Linked DNA regions of Homo sapiens: all the other regions are linked to region 1. Evidence: promoter capture Hi-C in human tissues and cell types (Jung and others, 2019). All regions are on one chromosome and are shown on one strand. Each heading gives the region's core, a stretch centred on a gene start or on the middle of the fragment in contact. The rest is flanking DNA. Distances are from core to core; before and after follow the strand shown. Region 1 holds the start of SLCO1C1 (solute carrier organic anion transporter family member 1C1). Region 2 overlaps SLCO1B1 (solute carrier organic anion transporter family member 1B1). Region 3 overlaps SLCO1B1 (solute carrier organic anion transporter family member 1B1). Region 4 overlaps SLCO1B3-SLCO1B7 (SLCO1B3-SLCO1B7 readthrough).

The links. The method cuts DNA at HindIII sites, captures the fragments that hold promoters and counts their contacts. A contact is called where the count stands out against the background at its distance.
Region 2: a contact is called between a fragment that was not itself captured here and the fragment with the promoter of SLCO1C1 in region 1, in 2 of the 25 tissues and cell types used here (H1 embryonic stem cells and mesenchymal stem cells).
Region 3: a contact is called between a fragment that was not itself captured here and the fragment with the promoter of SLCO1C1 in region 1, in 2 of the 25 tissues and cell types used here (aorta and mesenchymal stem cells).
Region 4: a fragment that was not itself captured here is called in contact with the fragment with the promoter of SLCO1C1 in region 1 in 1 of the 25 tissues and cell types used here (spleen).

Annotation. Positions count from the first base shown.
Region 1 is chr12:20,693,756-20,697,217 of GRCh38, forward strand. It overlaps SLCO1C1 (solute carrier organic anion transporter family member 1C1), which reads left to right and starts at 1,577. Exons shown (of 15, transcript NM_017435.5): 1 at 1,577-2,052. The HindIII fragment of the contact is 14,433 bases long and covers 1-3,462 here.
Region 2 is chr12:21,183,104-21,186,565 of GRCh38, forward strand. All of the region lies in intron 7 of SLCO1B1 (solute carrier organic anion transporter family member 1B1), which reads left to right. Among named protein-coding and RNA genes, the nearest start is that of SLCO1B1, 54 kb to the left of the region's middle. The HindIII fragment of the contact is 6,857 bases long and covers 1-3,462 here.
Region 3 is chr12:21,163,443-21,166,904 of GRCh38, forward strand. All of the region lies in intron 2 of SLCO1B1 (solute carrier organic anion transporter family member 1B1), which reads left to right. Among named protein-coding and RNA genes, the nearest start is that of SLCO1B1, 34 kb to the left of the region's middle. The HindIII fragment of the contact is 4,086 bases long and covers 1-3,462 here.
Region 4 is chr12:20,998,424-21,001,885 of GRCh38, forward strand. The region is part of intron 13 of SLCO1B3-SLCO1B7 (SLCO1B3-SLCO1B7 readthrough); the gene reads left to right. All of the region lies in intron 1 of LOC124902894 (putative solute carrier organic anion transporter family member 1B7), which reads left to right. Among named protein-coding and RNA genes, the nearest start is that of SLCO1B1, 130 kb to the right of the region's middle. The HindIII fragment of the contact is 4,104 bases long and covers 1-3,462 here.

The DNA of each region.
Region 1 (3,462 bases), core at 327-2,826:
CTGTCAGCAAACACCAGGAGGTGGAAGAGGTAAGGAGGATTCTTCCCTACAGGTCTCAGAGGGAGCATGGCTCTGCTGACACCTTGATTTTTGACTTCTGGCCTCCAAAAGTGTGAGACAATAAAGTTCTGTTTTAGGTCACTCAGCTTGTAGTACTTTGTTAGTGCAGTCTTAGGAAATGCATTCATTTATATGTTGTCTGTGGTTAATTTACCACCAGAATGGCAGAGGTGAGTGGTTGTGATAGAGATTGCATGGTCCTACAAAACCTAAAATATTTCTTATTTGTCCCTTTATAGAAGTTTGTTAACTCCCTCATCTAGAGTTTGGAAATGGGAATGAAAGGCTGAAGTAGGCTACAATCCAATGCAAGGTTGCACATAAGAAGCTCTGAATAAGTGTAAACATTATGTGCATTCAAAACAGTAACATTAACTGTGGACTCTGGAAATAAGAAAAGGAATCGTGTTGGAGAGTGAGACTGAGCCAGTTGGGAATAGACAAAATTACATTCTCAAGGGAGAATTTCATTTCTTGGTGAGGAAAATTATGCCCTTTGGGCTGGTAAATACTGTCTCCTCTTGAATAAAACAGTGGTCTGGCCACCTGTTAGACACTGAGAAGTCTAGACTAACACTCAATGTATTCGGATGTTTGCTCACTATTTCCGATGGAAAAGTCTGGTTTGATTGTTAAAGTAAAATATTTGGCCTTTCAGAGTGTGAAAACACCATTGCTTCATTGCAAGGTTTAATATAAACCCATTTTTCTTGCATTTTCTTTTCTTTCTTTTGTAGTAAAATGTGCTTGAATAATATTAACTATTCTGACCATTATGTGAACTAAATATATATATATATAAAATGATGATACCTTCCGCTCATTTGCAATGTGCTTTTGAATACATTATATAATTTAATCCTTAAAACAGCCCTATAAATCTGTTTTTTTTTTTTTTAAACAAAAAAATTCTGCTTTACAAAGGAAGAAGTTGAGACTCAGTAAAATTAAGTGACCATCCCAGAGTCTCAGCCACTTAAGAGTAGGGTGAATCTTGGATAATTCTGGTAGCAAATTTATTTATTGGTAGAAAATAAATGCAAACTACTACTGCTTAAGATCCTCTAAAGTTTTTCTCTTGGAAAAAGAATGTATTAGAATTGTGGACTTTCTCAGTGCAAGGATTTATTTATCCTTGGAATTAGGCAGAATAAACAATTGAATGCCAAAAATTCAACGTGTTTCTTTTCTGTTTTCAAAACTCATAGAAATTGTAAATATGAGCAACTGATCATGTCTCTGAGAATTAACTCTTTTTGTACAGAGCGCTGCAGAGCTTTGATTGTGACCTGATACTTGGTCCTTAAAGATTCTAGAACACCAATGGAAAAGAAAACCATGTAGCAAATTAGCCCAAGAACCGTTAAAGACAAAACAAAACAAACCAAAACCAAAACACACAAACAAAGAAAACACAAGGATCCCAGTGATGTCCCTAAGGAATAGTTGGCTTAAAAACTTTCTGGAAGGAGGAGGGGTCTCTGTTATAAACTTCCGCCCTCCTCTGGCTTCTGTTCCTTACCCTCTGCCCCCTGCGGAGTTGTGTTTTCTGGGAATCAGCAAGTAAGATCACAAGTGGTCTTTTCTTTTATTCACTCTCTCCCATAAAGAAAGCTTTATCACGTGTGGCCTTAAACTTGCAGCAAATTGCAAAGAAATGGCTCAAAAGCTTCAGCTCTTTCTGTGCCCTGGGAGCTGAGATGCACGTCAGTGGCCTTGCCAGCGTGGCCAATTCTCTGCTGACTGCCAGAAAAAAGAGGCCAGGAAGAAAGAGGAAAGAGAAGAGATCGCTCAGGGGTGAGACCATGCCCTTCATCTTTTCTTTTCCCTAATCTCCTCTGCTTGTGTCCACCCACACTCTCCCCACCTGGCAAAATTGTTCAAAATTGCTGTGGAGTTTACCTCAGTTTCCTCTTTCAGTCTGTGGTGTGTGGTCCATCCTCTTGCTGAGCACATTGAAAGGAACTGGCTATCTTTGATCTCTTCCTCCAGGTAAGACTTGGTTCTCTCATTTTATATTTTGTGACTAATACATCAGATTCTTATGGGAGATTAACCCTTAATTTCTGTGCGATTTATGTTTTATCCATAAAAATATCAGTGAAAGGTGATGATCCCCTCATTAGTTTGATGGAAATAAGAGAGAAGATTGGTTAAAGAAATCAGATAAACTCAAATTTGAGTTCAAATTTTGAGTCTCATGCTTATAAATTGTTTAGCTTTTGACAAGTCACTTAATTGCTTTGGGCCATCTAATTTAAAAAATGGAATTCTAATATTACGTTTGTTGGGTTGTTTTAAGGATTAGAAAAAGTACGTACATTACTCAACACAAAAATAGTACTTATTAAATCTGAATCTGACACAGATAATTTGTATTAGGTGAGAAATTAGTTTCTAAACAACACACACTCCTCTGCAGCAAGTGCCGTGAGGCTATTTTTTAGTTTGTCTGAAGGGAGGCATCCTGGTGTCCAGAAGTCAAGCCAGGACAGAGGTTTTCCTCACAGGAGATGGCCAAGAGAAGAGAGGGAGGAGCGTGGTTGCCTTTAGGACTTTCTCTGTGGCAGTCCTTGGGGACTGATTGCTGGACAGAGTCCGAGTCAGTTGCAGAGCAGAGGGGTTGAGTACATCTGCGGGATCTAACTACAACCTTCCTAAGCCACTTGCTCTCTCCATTTAAAATCTGGAGGGCTGATTTTGAAACTAATGAGGACTGATTATTCAATGTTTTTGAACCAAAGGAAGAGAAACTGCTTGGCTTGTTTTTCTTTGGCCTCCAGAATAAGTTATGCTCCAAACCCAGGGTATTGGATGAAAACTGTCGTATGTCTTTTCCTGGAAGAATCTATTCAAGTGGCCAGAGATCAATTAAGGATTTGCCAAATGCAAATAATTCTGAATAACTGTGTACTCTTGCTCTACTTCTGCAGTTGCAAATGAAGAGAGAGAGCCTGCAGGCCCCAAGGATCTTTCCGTTCATGTCATTGAGCTTCCTTCCCTCTCTTTTTACAGGGGATGAACTGTAGCCTCCTTGGAACATACTACACTTGCAATAATTTGCGCATTAACCATCAAGACACTTCAGTAAAGCTATGCAGTGCCAATAGTTTAAGCTGGATCCTATTTTGCCCTAACACAAAGTGAACTGAGATGACTATATTTATATTTCATTATACTTTTGAATTTTAGTTACAGTGATTTTTGTGTCAACACCTCCATATATTAGATAACTTAAAATGTGCTATAGTATCTCAAGTTTTTCAGTAGTGTTTTTAACATAATTATTTTTTCTCTTTGACATTAGCATTCTAGATGTAACACTTTGGATCTTTTAAAGATAAATTTAGGATAAATGATAGCAGATTTTATTATTAAACAATTTATTTGTATTTTCTGGTC
Region 2 (3,462 bases), core at 487-2,986, 490 kb after region 1:
CTGAAAAACAAAAGAGTTATGTCCCCGAGTAACAGCTTATCTGCCAGCCATTACTCTTAAGCACCATTTACTGGATCACAGCTCAATTTAAAACATCTGCCTATATATTTGAGACTGTACCTCACTCTGTTACCCAGGCTAGAGCGCAGAGAAGCAATCGTAGCTCACTGCAGCCTCAAGCTCCTAGGCTCAAGCCATTCTCCCACCTCAGCCTTCTGAGTAGCTGGGACTACAGGCACACACCACTACACTTGGCTAATATGTGTTATTTTCTGTAAAGACAGGGTTTTCCATGTTGCCCAGGCTGATCTCAAACTTCTGGCCTCAAGTGATCCTCCCACCTTAGCCTGGCAAAGTGCTGGAATTACAGGCTTGAGCCACTGTGCCTGACTTCAAAAATAGTTTGTCAGTATACATTGCATATGAAACTGAGAGCAAGAATCTAGCTATAAATAAAAATATTGTGCAGAGTCTTATCCCAGAAATTAAACCAACTGACCATACTCAACTTATACCACAGTTAAAGGAACACCATTCCTTCAAGATGAAAAAGAATCAACAAGAAATCTGGCAATTCAAAAAGTAAGAATGTACCTTAACCTTCAAATGGGTGCATTTGAGCTCTCCAGCGATGGTTCTTAACCACATTGGAATGACTAAAATGACAGACAGGCAATTCGGAATCTGGATGGCAAGAAAGCTCATTGAGATTCAGGAAAGTGCTGAAACACAATTTAAGGAATTCAATAATTCCAGTAGAATGATCCAAAAGCTGAAAGACATAATAGCCATTAAAAAAACACTACTTCTGGAATTAAAAAAAATACTACATGGATTTGATAATACATCCAGACCTTTAGCAACAGAACATACCAAAGAGAGAAAAGAATCTCAGAGCTTAAAAACCAGTTTTTATAATCCACTCCATCAGACAAAAAGAAAGAAAGAAAAAAAAACATAAAAATGAAGAAAACTTCTAGGAATTTGGTTTCCTTCTGTAAAGAAACCAAGCCTATGATTCATTGGAATTCCTGAGAGAGAAAAAGAGAGAGTAAACAACTTGTAAAACGTATTTGCAGATATAGTCCATGAAAATATCCTCAAACTTGCTAGAGAGATTGATATGCAAATTCCTAAATTACAGAGAACCCCTTTGAGATGCTATAAAGATGACAATCCCCAAGGCATCTACTCATTAGATTCCCCAAAGTCCACATGAAAGAAATAAATATTTTAAGATTTTTTTGGGGGGCAGCTAGAGAGATGGATCAAGTCACTGTCAAGGGGAACCCCATCAATCTTGCAGAACACCTTTGAGCAAAAACCATACAAGCCAGAAGAGATTGGGGACCTATTTTCAGCACCCTTAAAGAAAAGAAATTTCAACCAAAAATTTAATATCCCACCAAATTAATTTTGTAAGTGAAAGAGAACTAAACTCCTTCTCATACAAGCAAACATTGAGGAAATTTCTTATCACTAAACCAGCCTTATAACAGGTCTCTAGAAGAGTGCTAAACATGGAAACAAAAGATTAATACTTGCCACAACAAATACTCACTTAAATAGGTAGCCCAGACACATAAAGCAACTATACAACCAAGTCTATGAAACAACCAGCTAACAACATGATGCCATGATCAAAATCTCACGTATCAATAATAACCCTGAATGTAAACAGGCTAAATGCCCCAAGTAAAAGACACTGAGTGACAAGCTTCATAAGTAGACAAAACTTAGCCTTCTGTTGTCTTTAAAAGACACATCTTACATGTACAATACCCACAGGATCAAAGTAAAGGAACGGAAAGAGATCTATCCATGCAAACAGAAAACAAAACAGGGCAGTAATCACTATTCTTATATCAGATAAAACAGACATTAAACCAAAAACCATCAAGAAGGACAAAGAAGGGTATTACATAAGGATAAAGTGTTCCATTAAACGAGAAGACTTAACTATTCTAAATATATATGCAGTCAAAAGTGGAGGACCCAGATTTACAAAAAAGATTCTTAGAGACCTAAGGAAACTAAAAACAGACAGCCACACCATGATAGTGGAAGACTTCAACAACTCACTGACAGTGTTAGATATCGAAGCAGAAAATTAAAATGTAAATTTTGGACTTAAACTCAACTCTCAACCAACTGGATCCAAAAACATCCTACAGAATACTCCACCCAGCACTATCAGAATATGCTTTCTTCTCATCTGCATATAGATTGTATTCTAAAATCAATCATATGCTCAGTCATAAAGTCTCAATACATTCAAAAAATTAAAAGATTTTGAGTACATTCTTGAACAAAAGTGCAATAAAAATAGAAATCAATACCAAAAAGATTTCTTAAAACCACCCAAAAGTATGGTAATTCAACAACTTTTCCTGAATAATTCTTGGTTTAAGAATGAAAGTAAAACCGTTTTTGACATTAAATAAAATAGAGACACACCTCACTAAAATCTTTGGGATCTATCTAAAGCAGTGTTAAGAGGAAGTTTACAATGCTAAAGGCCTTCATCAAGAAGGCAGAGAGATTTCAAATTAACAATTTAACATTGCACTTACACTAACTAGAAAAAAAAAGGACAACCCCAAAGCAAACTGAAAATAAATAACGAAAATCAGAATGAAATTGTGATGCAAAATGTATACAAAAGATAAATAAAACCAAGAGTTTGTTATTCAAAAGAATACAAAAAGATTAATAGACTGTTAACTAGATTAACAAGGAAAAAAAGGAGACCCAATTAAGCACAATCGGAAATGACAAAGATCACATTACAACTCCCATAGAAATGCATTACAAATGCCCCTCTGCACACAAATTAGAAAATCTAGAGGAAGTAGAGTCATTCTTGGAAACAACCTCCAAAGATTAAACCAGAAAAAAAGTGAAAACCTGAACAGACCGATAACAAGTTATCAAATTGAATTAGTAATAAAAAACCTACTGACCAAAAAAAAAGCCCTGGACCAGATGGATTCTCAGCCAAATTCTACTAATTCTAATTTTATTCTAACATAAAAGTTCGCTTTTTTAAAGTTAAACTTCAAATTTAAGCACAGAAACACATATGTACCTCATATTATCTCATCTACAGTCAAGAGAAGTGAAAACAAATGTGAAGATGTACTATTAAAGCATAACTTTATACAATTGACTGTAATATATACGTTACTGCTGTAATAATTTCATAGCACCTCCTGTAATTGTAGTAATAAGGTTGTGTTGAAAGCACCTGCTTAAAACACCATGTGACACTAATTATCTCCACATGAACAGTTCCTCTCTCCAATAAATTGCGGATTGCAGCAAAATCTGATTGTGATTCTTGTGCGTTTTTATACTGTTTAGTGCAATACTGTCAACTTTGAATAACACCGTTGGAGCCATATGAATTGCCACTAGTGATGCTGAAACTGCTCCTAAGAAACTGAGAAAAGTCACGACATT
Region 3 (3,462 bases), core at 491-2,990, 470 kb after region 1:
TTATTTGTTTGTTCAGATGTTTTACAAAGTAATTAACTTTGTTGGCTTGAAATTGCAAACTCTGTCTTCTTGGTGTCTTAGTCAATTCAGGCTGCTATGACAAAAATACCACAGACTGGGTAGCTTAAACAACAAACATTTATTTCTCACAGTTCAGTAGGCTGGGAGACCAAGATCAGGGTGCCAGTATGGTTAGCTTCTGGTGACAGTTCTCTTCTTGCTTTCCTGACATGGCTAAAAGAGAAAGAGAATGGAAGTGAGTTCTCTTCTTAAAAGGGTACAAATCTCATTCATGAGGGTTCCACAGCCATTATCTAATCACCCCCCAAAAGCTTCACCTCCTGATACCATCACATTGGGTTAGGATTTGACATGCGCATTTGAGAGGGACACAAACATTCATTCTATGACAGATGGTAATCGAAGCAAAGACAATGAATGGGTTTGCCCAGCAAGAGTATGTAGAGTAAAAAGAGAAGACGGTATGAAACAAATCACTGAAAAAAAAAAAATGTAACAGCCAGAATAACATGATCTAAGGATACTTGGGAGGAATTATGCAAAAAATAGGATTTGAGTCATGCAGGCAAACTCTTTAAATTTTTACTGGAAAAGACATGAGAGACAGAGTTATGGAAAAGAAAGCATTTGGTGGAGGCAGATCCATTTTTTCTAATAAAATAAATTAATATGGATGAATTGTACAATCATTCCTTAGTAAATTTCAAAACTGCATCCAGGCAAATCTCTTATGCAACAGGCCTGCCTTAGTTGTGTCTACTGGGTACTTGTTTATTTTTAGGCATGTCAAATTCGACTTGTGAAAAGATGATTATATTGTCTTTAATGCTGTCTTCTTTTTCCCACCAAATGACAGTTATTCAAACCAGAAACTATAAAACAAACATACAGTTATCCGAACTAGAAAACAAAATCAGAATTTACATTTTCTATTTTCCCCACCTCCTGTTGGTTCTCCTCTTAAACTTCTCCTTGTGTGTCTGTAAGCTTGTTATACACTTTTCATCTCTACTCTTTTTTATTTTCTGAAGTCAGCTTTCTAACAGATCTCTTTTTCCTAAGTTCTTCTTCTTCATGGCTGCCAGAATTAACCATCTAAAATTTAATTTTGTTATGTAACATTTTAAAGTGCATATTGACTCCTCAATGTTGAACATATTTCTATCCTTACACTTCACCTACACAAATAATATTTCTGTTTTTCAAATAATCCGTGTTATTTCACTTCTTAGGGGCTTTTCATGTGCTTCCTATTTTGTTTTAAGTATTTTGTGTCTTCAATATCTAAGCTTCTATAATCAACTGAAGACTTAGCCCCAATGTCAACACATCTTTAAGAACTTTAACCTGTAAGGTCAGAATAGTCCCTTTTTCCTATCTGCACATAACATTACAAACTTATGGCAATTATAAAACTCAATACATATTATACTGTCATTATTGGTTTATTGCTGCTGAAGATTATAATTTTCAGTGCATTGATTATGTCTTATTTGTTTTTACTGCCCTTGTTCCTGTTCCTCTGTACCTGCCTCAACTACATAGCTTAGCAGACTAACTGCTATATTACAGTTGCTCAATGAATGTTTCTTGAGTAAATCAGTTGAGTTCCAAAGCTAATCCAAGTTGTGCGTTTGACAAATTAGAAGCTTGGAACTGTCTTCTGACTTTAAGTTTAGAACTATTGCCATAATAAATTAATGACCGATCTGCCATGATTGCAGGCAAGTAGAGACTTTATTTCTTATCTCAATGTCAGTTGTCTCTTTCTGCCAATGCACATTTTATTTGATGATTGTGCACATTTATATCTCTGGTTTTTATTTAAATAAATTTAGAACATATAGCTGGAGACGGTAGCTCAAACTGAGGATGAAAATAGACATTTATCAAGGTTATTATGTAGCTAGCACTGCATGTACACAGAGGTATTTAGGGAGCCACACATATGTCCAAGGCAAGACATATGCTCATAAAACGTCTGAGAAGATTGTATCCTTTTACCTAATGCTAATCCCCAAGCTTAGAACAAGGCAAGTGAAAGGTCAAAGGGATAAAAAAATACAATAAACAAAATAAAAATTTACAAGAAGTTGTTATGGACTAAATATTTGTTCCCCTCTCCCCAAAATTGTGTATTGAATTTCAAAATCCAATGTGATAGTATTTGGGAGTCTTTGGGAGCTAAAGAGATCATGAGAAATTTGCTCTTATAATGTGAGTAGTGCCTTACAAGAAAATGCTGGAGAGCTCACTAGATTTTTTTCCTCCATGTGAGAATACAAAGAGAAGTTAGCTGTTTGCAGCCTAGGAGAGGGCCCTCACCAGAAATTGACCATGCTGGCACCCTTATCTCAGACTTCTCACCCTTCAGAACTGTGAGAAATAAATGTTTGTTGTTTAAGCCATCCGTTCCATCATAATTTGTGATAGCAGTCTGAACTGACTTAGACAAAAGTTCAACAGCAAATTTGAGCAGTTAGAACACAGAATCCGCAAACTTGAAGATAAGACAATTGAAATGATTAGTCTGAGAAGCAGAAAGAAAAAAAAAACGAAGAAAAATTAACAAAACATACGGAACTGTGGGACACTATCAGGTGAACCAGCATAACAATTACAGTAGTTCTAGAAAGAGAAGAGACAGAGAAAAGGGAAGAAATAATATTTGAAAAAAAAGTGGCCGAGAACGTCCCAAATTTGATAAAATATATGATCTCAATATCGTAGAAGCATAAGAAAATCCAAATAAACTCAGAGATCCACTTTGAGGCACATTATGATCAAACTGTCAAAGGCCAAAAAAATAAAAATAAATTCAGAATCTTGACAGCAACAAGAGTAGGAAATAATCATGGGCAAGAGTTCCTTAATAAGATTAACAACTGATTTCTCATCAGAGACCAGAAGACATTGAAATGATATATCCAATAAAGAACTGATATTCAAAAGTATGCAAAGAACATCTAAAACTCAATAATTAGAAAAATAACCCAATGATAAAATGAGGATGATATCTGAACAGATGCCTCACTGAAGAAGATATAGAGACAACAAATGAGCATGTGGAAAAATGCTCCACATCCCGTCATTAGGGAATTGTAAATTAAACAATAAGCTATGTCACTGTATACTTGTTAAAAGGACTAAAATTCCAAACACAAAAATATACCAAATACTGGCAAGAATGTGGAGCGACAAGAACTCTTATTTACTGCCAGTGAGAATGCAAAATAGTGCAGCCACTTTGGAAAATATTCTAATAGTTTCTTACAAATTTAAAGATAGGCTTACCATACAATCAAGCATTTGTAGTCCTTGGTATTTACTGAAATAAGTATCAAGTGGAAAGCATGTCTACACAACAGCCTACAAAGAGGTGTTTATAGCAGCCTTATTGATAATTGCCATAAGTTAGAAGCAACCAAGGTGTCCTTCAAT
Region 4 (3,462 bases), core at 314-2,813, 300 kb after region 1:
ACCTGCCACCTCACTGGACTAACTTTTGTATTTTGAGTAGATACAGGGTTTTACCACATTGGCCAGGCTTGTCTCAAACTCCCTGTCTCAAGGGATCCATCTGCCTCAATCTCCCGTAGTGCTGGGATTAACAGGGGAGAGTCACTGCACCCAGCCAATTTGTGATCTTTCAGACTTTTAATGTAGGAATGTAGTATTATAAGCTTTTCTGTTAGAGTTCCTTTTGCTGTATCCATGGGGTTTTGATAACTTGTATTATCTGACATATCATCGTTTATGTAATAACTGACGTATTATCGTTTATTTCAAAGAAGTTTAATTTCCATCTTGATTTCATTGTTAACCCAAAAATTATTCCAGAGCATATTGTCTAATTTTCATGTATTTGTATAATTTGGGGGATTCCTTATGGAGTTCATTTCTAGTTTTATTCCACTGTGGTCTGAGAAAATATTTGATATGATTTTGAGTTTCCAAATATTTATTGAGGCTTGTTTTCTGTCTTACTGTATTATCTATGTTGGAAAATGTTCCAAGTGCTGATGACAAGAATGTTATTCCGCAGTTCTTGGACAAAATGTTTTGTAAGATTCATGTGTATCTGTTAGGTTCATTTGTTCTAGAATGTAGTTTAAGTCCATTTTTTATTGCTTTTCTGGCTAGATAATCTGTCTAGTGCTGTCAGTGATGTTTTCAAGCCATCCACTATTATTGTGTTGCTGTCTATCTCATTTCTTAGGTCCAGTAGTAATTGTTTTATGAATCTAGGTGCTCCATTGTTTGGTGCATATAAATTTAATATCTTCTTGTTGGATTGATCCTTCTTTCATTATATAATAATCTTCTATGTCTTTCTTTTTTACTGCTGTTGCTTTAAAGTCTGATTTATTTGATATAAGAATAGCTACTTCTGCTGACTTTTGATTTCCATTTCCATGAAATATCTTTTTTCACCCCTTTACCTTGAGTTTTATGAATCCTTATGTATTATGTGAGTCATGTGAAGAAAGTTGATATTTGGTTTGTGATTCTTTATACATTCTGTTGATCAGTATCTCTTAAGTGAAGCATTTTGGACACTTACATTCAACATTAAAATTTAGATGTAAGGTATTTTCCCGCTCATCATTTGAATTGTTACTTGGATACTTTTCTTAAATTGTGTAATTCTTTTAGAGGCCCTTTGAGTTTTATGCTTTCAAATTCTGTTTTGGTGCATATCAAGCTTTTGTTTCAAGATTTAAAACCCTTTTCAGAATTTTTTGTAAGGCTGGTCTGGTAGCAACAAATTCCCTCATCATTTGTTTGTCTAAAAATGACTTTATTTCTCCTTCATTTATATAACTTAGTTTTACCAGATACAAAATTTCTGCCTGACAGTTATTCTGTGTAAGGAGCCTGAAGATAGGACTCTCATCCATTCTGGCTAGTAAGGTTTGTGCTGAGAAGTCTGCTGTTAGTCTTATAGGTTTTCCTTTATAGGTTACCTAATGCTTTTGACTTAGAGCTCTCAGAAGTCTTTTTTCATACAGACTTTATGTAGCCTGATGACTACATACCTTGGTGATGACCTTTTTGCAGTGAATCTCCGGGAATTGTTTGAGCTTCTCATATTTGAATATCTAAATTTATTGCGAGGCCAGGGAAGTTTTCCTCAATTATTCCCTGAAATATGCTTCCAAGACTTTTTTGTTTTCTCCCTCAGGAACACCAATTATTCTTAGGTTTGGCTCTTTTCCATAATCCCATAGATCTTGAAAACTTCATTTATTTTTATTCTTTTCCTTTATTTTTGTCTGTTTGGGTAAATTTAAAAGCCTAGTCTTTGAGCTTTGATTTTTTTTTTCTTCTACGTGTTCTAGTCTATTGTGGAAACTTTTCACTGCATTTTGTAATTTCTAAATTTGTCTTTCATTTCCAAAAGTTCTGATTGGTTTATCTTTAAGATATCTGTCACTTTATAAAATGTTTCCTTCATATCCTGAATTTTTTTTTTCATTTCTTAATGTAGGTTTTCACCTTTTTCAAGTATCTCTTTGAGTAGCTTTATAACCAACCTATTAAATTCTTTATTTTGTATTCCAAAGATTTCATCTCGGTTTGGATCAATTGCTGGAGTGCTAGTATAATCTTTTGGGGTGTTACAGAACCCTATTTTGTCATATTAACAAAATCGTCTTTCGGTTTGTTTTTCTCTCATTTGGGTAGAGTATTTCTTCTAATTATTCTTTTTGTTTTTTTTCCGGAGTTTTGCTCTGTCACCAGGCTAAAGTGCAGTGGCACGATGTCGGTTCACTGCAACCTCCGCCTCCTGGGTTCAAGCGATTCTCCTACCTCAGTCTCCCAAGTAGCTGGGATTATAGGTGCTCGCCACCACGCCCAGCTAATTTTTCTATTTTCAGCGGAGGCGGGGTTTCACCATGTTGGCCGGGATGGTTTCGATCTCCTGACCTCATGATCCACCCGCCTTGGCCTCCCAAAGTGCTGGGACTACAGGTGTGAGCCACTGCACCCGGCCTAATTATTCTTAAATTCATTTTTAATTTGACTTTTTTTTTTAAATTTCTTTCCCCCCTCCAAGTATGTGACTTTAATGTTTGTAGTTTACTGTGGCTTAATTTGGCTCTTTGTACTTTAATGGGTAAAAACTCTGTATGAATTCCTTGGTTATAGAGAGTCTTTGTATGATGGCTTTCTCTGATGCTAGTTGTAGTAGCAATGTGCCCAGTGTGTAAGCAAGTTCACAATCTCCTATAGAGTCGGAATGACAGAGGTCTCTTGAAGCTTATCTCATTCCACTCTGGTGTGTACTTTTTTGTTTATTTTTTCCTATGTATTTTAGTTACTGGGTTAAATAGTTCAGGCTTTAGTCCAGTGTGGGAGGTGTCCATGTTTAAAAACCAGCTGTGGCTAAATTGGGTGGGTAATTGCGATACCCGATGGTGGGCAGAGGTCCTATTCTTGACAAAGGTGGATGAGGGTGATCTCAGTGAAATTCACTGAGGTCTTAACAGAGAGAAGGACCATATCCACCTCAGCAGCTCTCTCAGGTCTACAGGAAAGCTATTCCCATTCCAGACACACCCTTGACCCAATGTTATGGCTATTTATATCAGACAGGTACCTCTTCTCATCTGCAAGAATGTTGATGTTCTACATAGAGAAGAATTGTGACTCTACCTCTTGTGCAAACCTGTGCCTGGAGGTGTTCCTCCTGTGGGGATGCAATCACCCTGAAGTGTTCCACAAAGGCTGTCTATAGGTGTATCCATACCAAGCTCCTGTGTTAACAGCCCTAGCTATATCTGCAGTAGTGGATGAGAGGCAAAAGAAGTCCCTTCTCCAAGATTCTTCACAAGTACCAGGACTCCCTGACTGTTGGGTTAGAGCTGCAGACTTTCTCTGCCGAGCCCTGCACTGCAAATGTTCTGCTGCTGAAAGAAACTTCCCAACAGTTGAAAG